Regions from separate parts of the Homo sapiens genome. Here region 2 is linked to region 1. Evidence: promoter capture Hi-C in 16 types of primary human blood cells and fetal thymus (Javierre and others, 2016). All regions are on one chromosome and are shown on one strand. Each heading gives the region's core, a stretch centred on a gene start or on the middle of the fragment in contact. The rest is flanking DNA. Distances are from core to core; before and after follow the strand shown.

Evidence for each region. The method cuts DNA at HindIII sites, captures the fragments that hold promoters and counts their contacts. A CHiCAGO score of 5 or more calls a contact.
Region 2: a contact is called between a fragment that was not itself captured here and the fragment with the promoter of RASGRF2 in region 1, in 1 of 17 cell types (endothelial precursors). The highest score is 5.9, in endothelial precursors.

The regions. Positions count from the first base shown.
Region 1 is chr5:80,958,387-80,963,323 of GRCh38, forward strand. It overlaps RASGRF2 (Ras protein specific guanine nucleotide releasing factor 2), which reads left to right and starts at 1,977. Exons shown (of 27, transcript NM_006909.3): 1 at 1,977-2,640. The coding sequence starts at 2,353. RASGRF2-AS1 (RASGRF2 antisense RNA 1) reads right to left here and starts at 2,521. Exons shown (of 4, transcript NR_105015.1): 1 at 2,395-2,521. RefSeq lists an enhancer at 2,080-2,801. The HindIII fragment of the contact is 16,452 bases long and covers 1-4,937 here.
Region 2 is chr5:80,700,134-80,704,531 of GRCh38, forward strand. The region is part of intron 8 of MSH3 (mutS homolog 3); the gene reads left to right. Among named protein-coding and RNA genes, the nearest start is that of DHFR, 47 kb to the left of the region's middle. The HindIII fragment of the contact is 2,021 bases long and covers 1,489-3,509 here.

The DNA of each region.
Region 1 (4,937 bases), core at 727-3,226:
TCTACTAAAAAAATGGAGCTTATCAACCACACAGGTGTCTACTCACTTACGGTTCTCACAGCTGGGATTGGACCACAGAGAAAGAAATAAAAGGCCTCCTGAGGCAATCACCAGCTCCTCTGCATCTAGAATCTGGCTCCAAAATGTTGCCTGCATTTACTTACTGTCTCTGTACTTGTGTCTTCTCTGAAGAACAATGCAAACTTCCAGCTGGGTTAAACCCAATTTAGCACAGCACTGTCCTTTAGATATTTTTAAAAACGTAAAGAGAAATGACCACTGTTCTCACGCTGTAATTTCAAAATGGCAATTTCCCTACTATATACTTGTTAAAAGTGAAAATTTTTTAAAAAGGTAAAAGGAAAAAAAAACCCCACTCAGCTGCTCAGTGAGGCAGAGTTAAAATATTCTGCAGAAACAGCACTTATGAAACAGGCAGAACCCCTGGGGCTACCAATTCATGAACACACAACTGGCAGTACAAGACAGGTGTATTGTCGTAGACTCATCACCCAGAAAAGCATTATTATTTACTTTTAACAATAAACATTTTATGATGGCACTCCGTTTTAGTGATAAATGACTGGGGAAAATAAAAAATGTGTATAGCAGAATCAAATATAGGCCCTCCCCGGGGGTTTCACTGGCTTTCTCTCACAGCTGCTGGCTACATTATTTCTTTTCCACTTACATTTTTACAGCATGGGGTTGGGGCGGGGGGGTGGCTCTTGGTTTTCTGGTTGTACCTGTCAGATTTGTTAATCAAATGAATCCAGTCCTACAAACGATGAGCCTGTGACAGCTGGCCTTTGGGGTTGGATTCTGCCCTGGGCAGCAAAGTGTCCCTTATTTGGGTATTTTTTTCCAGGTTGAAAACTCGGCACTTAAAATTTAGCATCTTACCACTGTGAAATAACAGGCATTCCGAAAGAACTTCGGCATCTGATGCCTTTCCGGGAACACTTGGGCCACTCTCCTTAACCTTTACCGGCAGTTTTAAATACTACAATGCAGGTACAAGCAGAAAAGCCAAGGATGCGGGCTATGCAAAGCCACTCTGTGACTCTACCTACTGCCATGGGAACGTACTTATGGATGTGGCATGTGAGTGTGTGTGTATGTGTGAGTGGGTTTGTGAAAGTGTGTGGATTCGTGCGAATACGTGTGTGAGTGCTTTGTGTGTATTTTTGGATGAATTTGTGAATGTACATGTGTGTTCATCTGTGTGTGTGTTTGATTATCTGCTTATGAGTCTGTATGATTGTGAACGTGTGAGTATATGTGTGCTGTTTGTGTGACTGTATGAGTGTAATGTGTGTATGAATGTATGTTTGAATGTGGGTTTGAGTGAATGTGTGGGTTGTGTGTGAATGTGTGTGTAAGTGAGCATATCACTGCGTGCATGTGTGTAGCTCCTTAAGTGTGTATCTGAATGTGGGTTTTATTTTTGTGCGCGGGAACGCACATTGTGGGTGTATTTGTCTATATGCATTTGTGCGTTGTGACTGTGTGTTGAGTGTGAGCGTTGTGAGAATGTGTATTTGTGTGTCATGAGTGTGTGCGCGTGTGTTTTTGTGCATATGTGCGCGCATTGTGTTTGTGTGCATTTGTGAGTGTATTTTTGTGCGTCTGAGTGTGTGCATTGTGGATCTGGGTGAATGTACTGGTCTGCGTGTGTGTGGGTGTGCGTGTGTGTGTGCGCGCGTTGTGCGCGAGTGTGCGAGCGCGTGTGAGCGGGTGTGTGGTGCGGCCGGGCGCCTCCACCTCCCTGATCCGCCCCATCCCGGCGGGCGCCCGAGCAGAGGCAGCGGCCCGGGCCGGGGCGGGCGAGGGAGGGACGCGAGCCGGGGCAAGCGGGCTGCGCCACCGCCGGCGCCGCGCCGACTTTGCCCTTTAAATCGGTCTCCAAGCCGATTACAGCTGAGCTCCCACGTGACGTTTTACCTTCTGTCTCCCGGAGCGCGTTGCCCGAGGACAGTCCTTCCCCGGCTGCCGCCCCAGCCCGCCGCGGGGGCTCGGCTCCCGCAACTTTGGGCGAAGCGGCGGCCGGCTCGGGCGCCCTCGCGGGGCCGCGCTCCACGCGGGCGTTGGGGGCTTGGGGGGCTCCGGGGGCTCGGCCGGGAGGGTGGTGGTTAGGGCGGAGAGCGTGCCTCGGCCCCAGCCCGCGCCCCTGCCACCGCGCGCCGCGGCCTCCCGAAAGCGGGCGGGGTGCCCTGCGCGCGGCGTGGGGAAAGGGGGCGCCCTTCGCCGGCCGGGACCTGAGCGGTCGCGCCCTCGAGGGAGCCAGCTGGGCCATGGCCGCGAGGCAGGGGTGAGACCGGCGGCCACCCGTGAGCCCTCCGCACCCGCACCATGCAGAAGAGCGTGCGCTACAACGAGGGGCACGCCCTGTACCTGGCCTTTCTGGCGCGCAAGGAGGGCACCAAGCGCGGCTTCCTGAGTAAGAAGACGGCCGAGGCGAGCCGCTGGCACGAGAAGTGGTTCGCCCTCTACCAGAATGTGCTCTTCTACTTCGAGGGCGAGCAGAGCTGCCGCCCGGCGGGCATGTACCTCCTGGAGGGCTGCAGCTGCGAACGAACGCCCGCGCCACCCAGGGCCGGCGCCGGGCAGGGAGGCGTCCGAGACGCGCTGGACAAGCAGGTACCGCGCGCCTTCTCTCCGCGGTCTCCCAGCCTTGATCGCCGCACTCCCTTGCCGTCCTAATCCGGGGATCAGGGGTCGGGGGTCGTGAAAGAGTGCGGGGACTATGCTCCGAAATCCCCCCGCGTCACCAGTGGCGGGACATCTCCACGCTCCTTCCGATCTTCATCCAGGGATTCTCCCATCTCCATACCCCTCCACCCCACTGCCAAGTGATCAGTCAGAATAGTGGCCCGACTTGCTTTCATTACCCTGGTAGAGGTCGAGTCGTTTCAGCTTCTCTGCCAACCATCTATTGCTTCTCTAGACCTGGCTCGCCAGATTTTTGTCTGGTGACATGTATTGACACCTGTTGGGTGTAGATTGGCAAGACGGAACTAACTTATTTGGAAAAGTTTGATTTCTGCCATACCCGGCTGGCGCGTGTAGATTTCTTTGCCTGCAGATGTTTGACCACTGGTTGGGCTGGGAACAAGCGGGGCTCCCAAGCCGGACAGACACTTTCTGTTGGTCATTTTCAATCAGTCTTTGTGATTTCGGTCAGTTGGCCTTGCTAACATTTGACCTGCTGGGTGTAATTATGAAGGTAAATGTGTATTCATATTCCTCAGGATTAATATTTGGTAGCCACATTCTTGCTATGTTTAAAAATGTGGGCATTTTTAAAGAACGCTTCTGTACTTTTAAATGAATGCTTTGAAAATGAATGCGACCTTTTAATTCTGGGTCATAATTTTATTAGTTTTGCTGTGTGCTCATGGTCGCGGGGTGGGGGAGAAAAACCCTTTAAGTCTTAGTGATCCCAGCCCCTCATTCCTGCAAACACAAAGTTTGTATGTTTCCAATCACCGTTTGGTTATTAAAGTTAAAGCAGACTAATTTTATGCCCCTAATGTTCTCATTTAGCTTCTCAATCCCCACCTTGATATGAAAAAGGCTGATTGTTTTTGCTGTTGCGTAAAAATATTCGCAGCTGAATTTTCCATGTGAGTTCAGATCAGACAGCATCTACCGCACACCACAGAGGCTGTGGGAGGTGCTAGCAATGGAGTGATCCGTAAGATGCCTACCTAACCCTTTGGGGCTCATAAAACAATGTGTAAAATTAAGAGGAGTTAAAACTAGACCGACCGGAAGTTTGAGTTGTTTTCACTATAAATCATTAACAGACTTAAGTGATTAAACTTGTTATAACACTTATAAATCTGAAAGTTTAAATATGCTCTTTAGTTTCTGAGGGCTTGTTCAGAGTCATTTGAAAAACTGATTTCCAACTTTATAGATATAGATACTAGAAATATAAACATAAATTTCAAGTCATGCATTTTAGAATTTAAATTGGGAGAAGAGTTTTGAGGAAACATTTTTTTTCAGGAATATATATAAGTAACATTCTATTGGTGGGATTTTTTTTAAGGTATGTGTTCCAAGGCCCCGCAGGAACCAAAATGAATAGGTTTCTAAATGTTATTATGTCTAAAGTAGAATAGGGTATTTTAAATTACTCAGGATATATATCATTTACTTAATCTCAAATTATTTGTTTTCTTCATATTTATATTAATATAAGATAACCACTTTTGATTTTTTTTTTTTCAGTTAGGGGTGGGGAGTTGTTACCTGTTACAATTCATATGGCTCTCTGACTTGCTAATGTTATATGGAAACCAACATTTTTCTACTTGGAAAATATCTGGACTGTAATCTTCAAGACTGTTTTCTTTCTTGCACTTTAATAAGGAAACATAACTTCCAAATAGTTTGACTTTCATGCCACTTTCTAATGGTTGTCCTAAATAGGCCATCTAATGAAAAAATTGTTTTCCCTTTTTATGACCATGCAAATGATGAGTATTTCTCAGTCATTTTATTCATCTTCAAGAGGTTAGAAATTAGAATCTTTGGTGTTTGTAGATAAATCTGAGATGTAGAGAAGCAAGCATTCCAGAATGGATTAGGAGTTGGGCTGGGAAACCTTCCACATTTTGTCTTGCATTAGATGTGCTGCTGTGAGTTGGGTTAGCTTAGCCCACTGATGCTTTTCTCTGGCACTGCCAACTGGGTGTGTTTGAATAATTAAGAAGAAACTGTGAAAATAAGAAACAAGGAGAAACATTCTACCTTAAATCTACAGTTTATCCAGTTGGTTACCTCTCAGCTAATTTATGTTGCTGAGGTGCTTAGATCATCCAGACACTGAGACACGAAGGATCTGTGGAGGATGTGAGGAGATGAGCACATCCCAAGGTTTGCTTCTTTCTCCTTATATGCTTCTGGAGCTTTCCATATCAATATCT
Region 2 (4,398 bases), core at 1,249-3,748, 260 kb before region 1:
CTTTGGGAGGCTGAGGCGGGTGGATCACTTGAGGTCCGGAGTTCAAGGTCAGCCTGGCCAACATGGTGAAACCTCATCTCTACTAAAAATACAAAAAATTAGCTGGGCATGATGGCACGTGCCTGTAATCCCACCTTCTCAGGAGGCTGAGGCAGGAGAATTGTTCGAACCTGGGAGGCAGAGGTTGCAGTGAGTCGAGATCTCCCCACTGCACTCCAGTCTGGGCGACAGAACAAATCAATTCTGGTAGTAGAGATGGTAGTGACTAAATGGAAGAAATAAATCTCATATGCTGTAGGAAAATGTTTGCCACTGGGAAACCATTTAAAGAGGAAGTGTTATTAGTATTAAAAAATCTGTCATTTTGAAATTTCTTTTTAAAAATTACATTAATTTCTTCCCTGGTGGTAATGCCATTGTATTTTCAGTAGGTTTTTTTTTTAGTCCTGATACTTTTTGTATATCTAGCTAGCAATTTTAATGGATGTGCTTAACTCATGAAAATCCAGATTTTAAAACATGATAAGTTAATAGGTGATAGTTATTTTATAAGAACATTTGCCATGAGTTTATTTAAAGAATGAGAGCTTCTTTGTGCATTTTCATCAAGTGCATTCTCCTCAGGAATATATCTCCTTGAAAAGAAAAAATGGGGTGTATTTGCAGTAGGTTTATTGATAGTCGAATAGGAAGAAACAGCATTTGAGAAGTGTGGAGAAAAGATCTTCCTGATTACTACAGAGACCTCCTAAAGTGGGGCCAGACTGCTTGAACAGAAAGTTTGGAAGCAATTGTGTGAGGTGTGCTGCATTTGTTTTACTAATTCGACTTGATTTTTGTAAATACACCTGTTCATTTGGGTTTGAGGATTTAATTGCATAAAGACTCTTTATTTAGCTAAAGCGTCTTGTCCTCATGGCTTTTCCCAGAAGTTTGTGTTATAAATGTTAATATATTAAAAGTGCTTTTAAATGATTTATTATTAGCATCTTAAAAAAATCCTACACTAAATATTAAAGTAGTCTTTATTATTTCAGGTGAAGGCAAAGGGAAACAGTACGAGTTGCAAGGTAGGGGGTAAATGGAAAGGAAGAAAAAGGAAAGACAGGAGATGAAGGGAAAGATTGAGTCCCATCATTCTTGAAGACACATTGTTCATGGCTTCAATAACCCTGGCACAGCCCTCTGAAGAAAGTGTAGTTATCCTCTTCTTTCTGCAAGGAGGCAGAGATGCTGTGAACCTCTCTTGAAGTTACAGGATCACTTAGGTAGTAAGTGGCAAAGCCCACTAGAGCCCTAACCCTGTTTGATACTGGTGAGTTCACCTGCTATCATTAAGGTGTAACCTGACAGCAATGTAAAAGACAAAAATCCCCCTTCACTGAACTCCAAATACAGTTACTGTCTGTCCTCAGGATCTCTTTATTTTTTTCTTCTCCTTTTCATGGTTCAAGGAGAGATCCCTTTTAATCTCTTCCCTTCCAGCAAAGCTTCCTTTCACTTTCTACCTGAAGTCAAAAACTTGAGGCCAGCTTAGTTCAGAGCTCCTCTGGGCTTGCTTATCTCCCAGCCTTTGTGGACTCCTTCTTGTCCATTTGTCTTTGTAATGACTTCTTCCTGTCGAACCTCCCTGCTGAAGGGAGACTTCTTACTAATTTCTCTTATTTTCCCTGCTTGCTTGCTTTGAGATTATTTTCTTATCTCTTGTTTTCAGGCCAGGAATTTCTTCCTCCTGCCAGCTTTTTTGTGAATCCTTTTTAACCTCTGGCCCAAGTCTTGATCCCTAAAGCAGTAAAAGCCTATGGAGGCCTGGTATGGTTTTTCTGTACAGTTTTTCCTCCCTCCCTTCTTTTTCTACCCTTCTTTCTGAAAAAACAACAGAAACAAAAAAAACCCAAAAACCCTCTGATACTTGATTTTGTATCAATAATCAATATACATTAATATAAAATTTATTAATATAAATTGACTTAATATACACAATACTGAGTTTTTTCCAGGCTTTTGTGGAAGCTCCCCACTGCAGTCCAGAATGCTCCGTGACCAGGTCCTAGGATTCTTTCCCTTGGTGCCATTGTGACTGCTCCCTTATTTTATACCTTCAGCTCTGTCCAGTTCTCTTCTTGGCCTGGCTGAGCTGGGCTCTGCACCTCATGGGAGTGGACATGAATCCTGAACACACCATGTGGGTGTACTGGGTTGTCCCCAACCTTAATGTGAAGGCAAGTTTAGAGAAGAATGCATGATGAGTGGGCTTGCATGCCTCCCTGATGGCCATATGGGAGCATGACCACACCACAGGGTTAGTCCTTACCTGGTGGGAGCCACTGGGAGCAGAGGAGTGCTAGGTATCGCATGGCATATTTAAGATAGTTTGTGTCCAGCCATGACATTTCAAGTGCTCATTAACTGCATGTGGTTAGTAGCTACTGTATAAGGCAATGTAGTTTTATAGACAGTAGCACAGCTGTATGCAAGAGATGGGCCTAGAAAGACAGGTAACACTTAACTAGACAGATTTGGGGGAAAATACATTCCTCAATGAAAGCAAAGTTTAAACAAGGTTGAAATAATTTATTTAAAAAAAAAAATAGCTGGCTGGGTGCAGTGGCTCACGCCTGTAATCCCAGTACTTTGGGAGGCTGAGGAAGGTGGATCGCTTGAGCTCAGGAGTTTGAGACCAGCCTGGGCATCATGGTAAATCCCTGTCTTTACTAAACATACAAAAATTAGCTGCGCATGATGGCAAGCAGCTGTAGTCCCAGCTAATTGGGAGGCTGAGGCAGGAGAATCACTTGAACCCGGGTGGCTGAGGTGGCAGTGAGCCGAGATCATGCCACTGCACTCCTCCCTGGGCGACAGAGCGAGACAAGCAACAGCAACAAAACAAAAATAAAAACAGCTAATGAAGTTCTTATTATGTACCTGGTACATTCTGCCATTACTGAAATTAACTGATGTCATCTTCACAACAATCCTTTGAGGTGATTACAATTATTATTTAATATGTCCATAATAAATGACAGGTTTAGGAATGTACATTTGAATTGTGGTTCTGACTGAAACATTGGGCAGTTGAGGAAGTACTTGATAAAGTGATTAGTGCCCTTTTTAAGTGTGAGCAATTTCTAGTTGCTAAGTCAGGGTATCATTTATGTATGAATTACCTTATAGGTAAGTATACTTTACATTCTTTTATGTAACTCCTAACTATCAACCTCCAGATATCACAAAGTTTACTTGTGGGTGATTAAATTGCTTAAGACAAGAGATTGCCCACCCATACAGAATTTCTATTGCTTCTGCCTTCCAGAGAACAGTGGGAGCAGCCTGGCCTGCAGGTTGATTGTCAGATTCTGCCTCCCTCCCACCTACTTATTCCTCCAGAGAGACACATAGCTTAGCCTCCTGTCACACTCTGTCATTTTCCTGGGGCTGCAGAGCAAAGGGCTCCCTCAGGTTAATTCTGAAGTCCTGTGTATGCTGAAGTCTGCTTGAAGAAGGAGAGAAGCTTCCATCTTGCATATTTCCTAATACTTTATCTTTCCTTCTGTAACAACAGTGCACAGATTTTACTTCAGGAATGTGTTTTTATTCACTCCTGCTGTTATCCTGTATACTAAAGTAGTCCTTTGTCAATGTGCTGATGTGCTCTAGAAACATATAAAGAGTTTTTTTTTTAATTGGTTTGTTGACTGGACGTAAACACTAGTATAACACTAAATCTAAGTGCAGAGAGTGGGCAGCCTGATTTTGTTCATAATCTCAGGGGAATCTTTTATAATGGGCCAGGAAGCACGTGTCTGTGGTTTCTGCATAGGGCGTGTTCTGTGGTGCCCAGCCAGCTGTAGTATGTCCTGCGAGATTTGGCCTGCAGGCCACAATGGTGGGCTTCTGGGAGGAAGAATCTTCCTTAGAAGTCCTGCCCTTTGACACTCCTTCTGCTGAAGTGTCCTGATCTCAGTGGGGCTCCCTGATTTTCTGTTCCGGGGTCTATCAGCACTGGGTCTATCAGTGCTACCCACGCCGCCGTGACTGTGGGTCACTGAGGGTGACCTGCGTGGGTCCCATGGGCTCAGCCTGGCCTTCCCAGGTCCTACAAGGTCCTCCTTACTGTCCGTCCCTGCTCAGTCACCAAAGAATGACTTTTTTGAAAGTACAATTCCAGAGTTAAATACTGGCTAAGTGTAGAAAACAATACTGGAATTCAGTCTTCACCTCCACCAGTCCTCATGGTGAGATGAAGTGTTTATGGGTTTCTTTGTTGTAACCTCAAAAGTGGAATGCATTTCCTGGTTGGTGCTGCTTGCCCTCCAGGTGCTTAGTGAGTGAAGCTTCATCTTCCAGATTTCTCTTTGTGGCTTAGGGTATCTGTATGATTTTCCTGCTTTTGTTTTC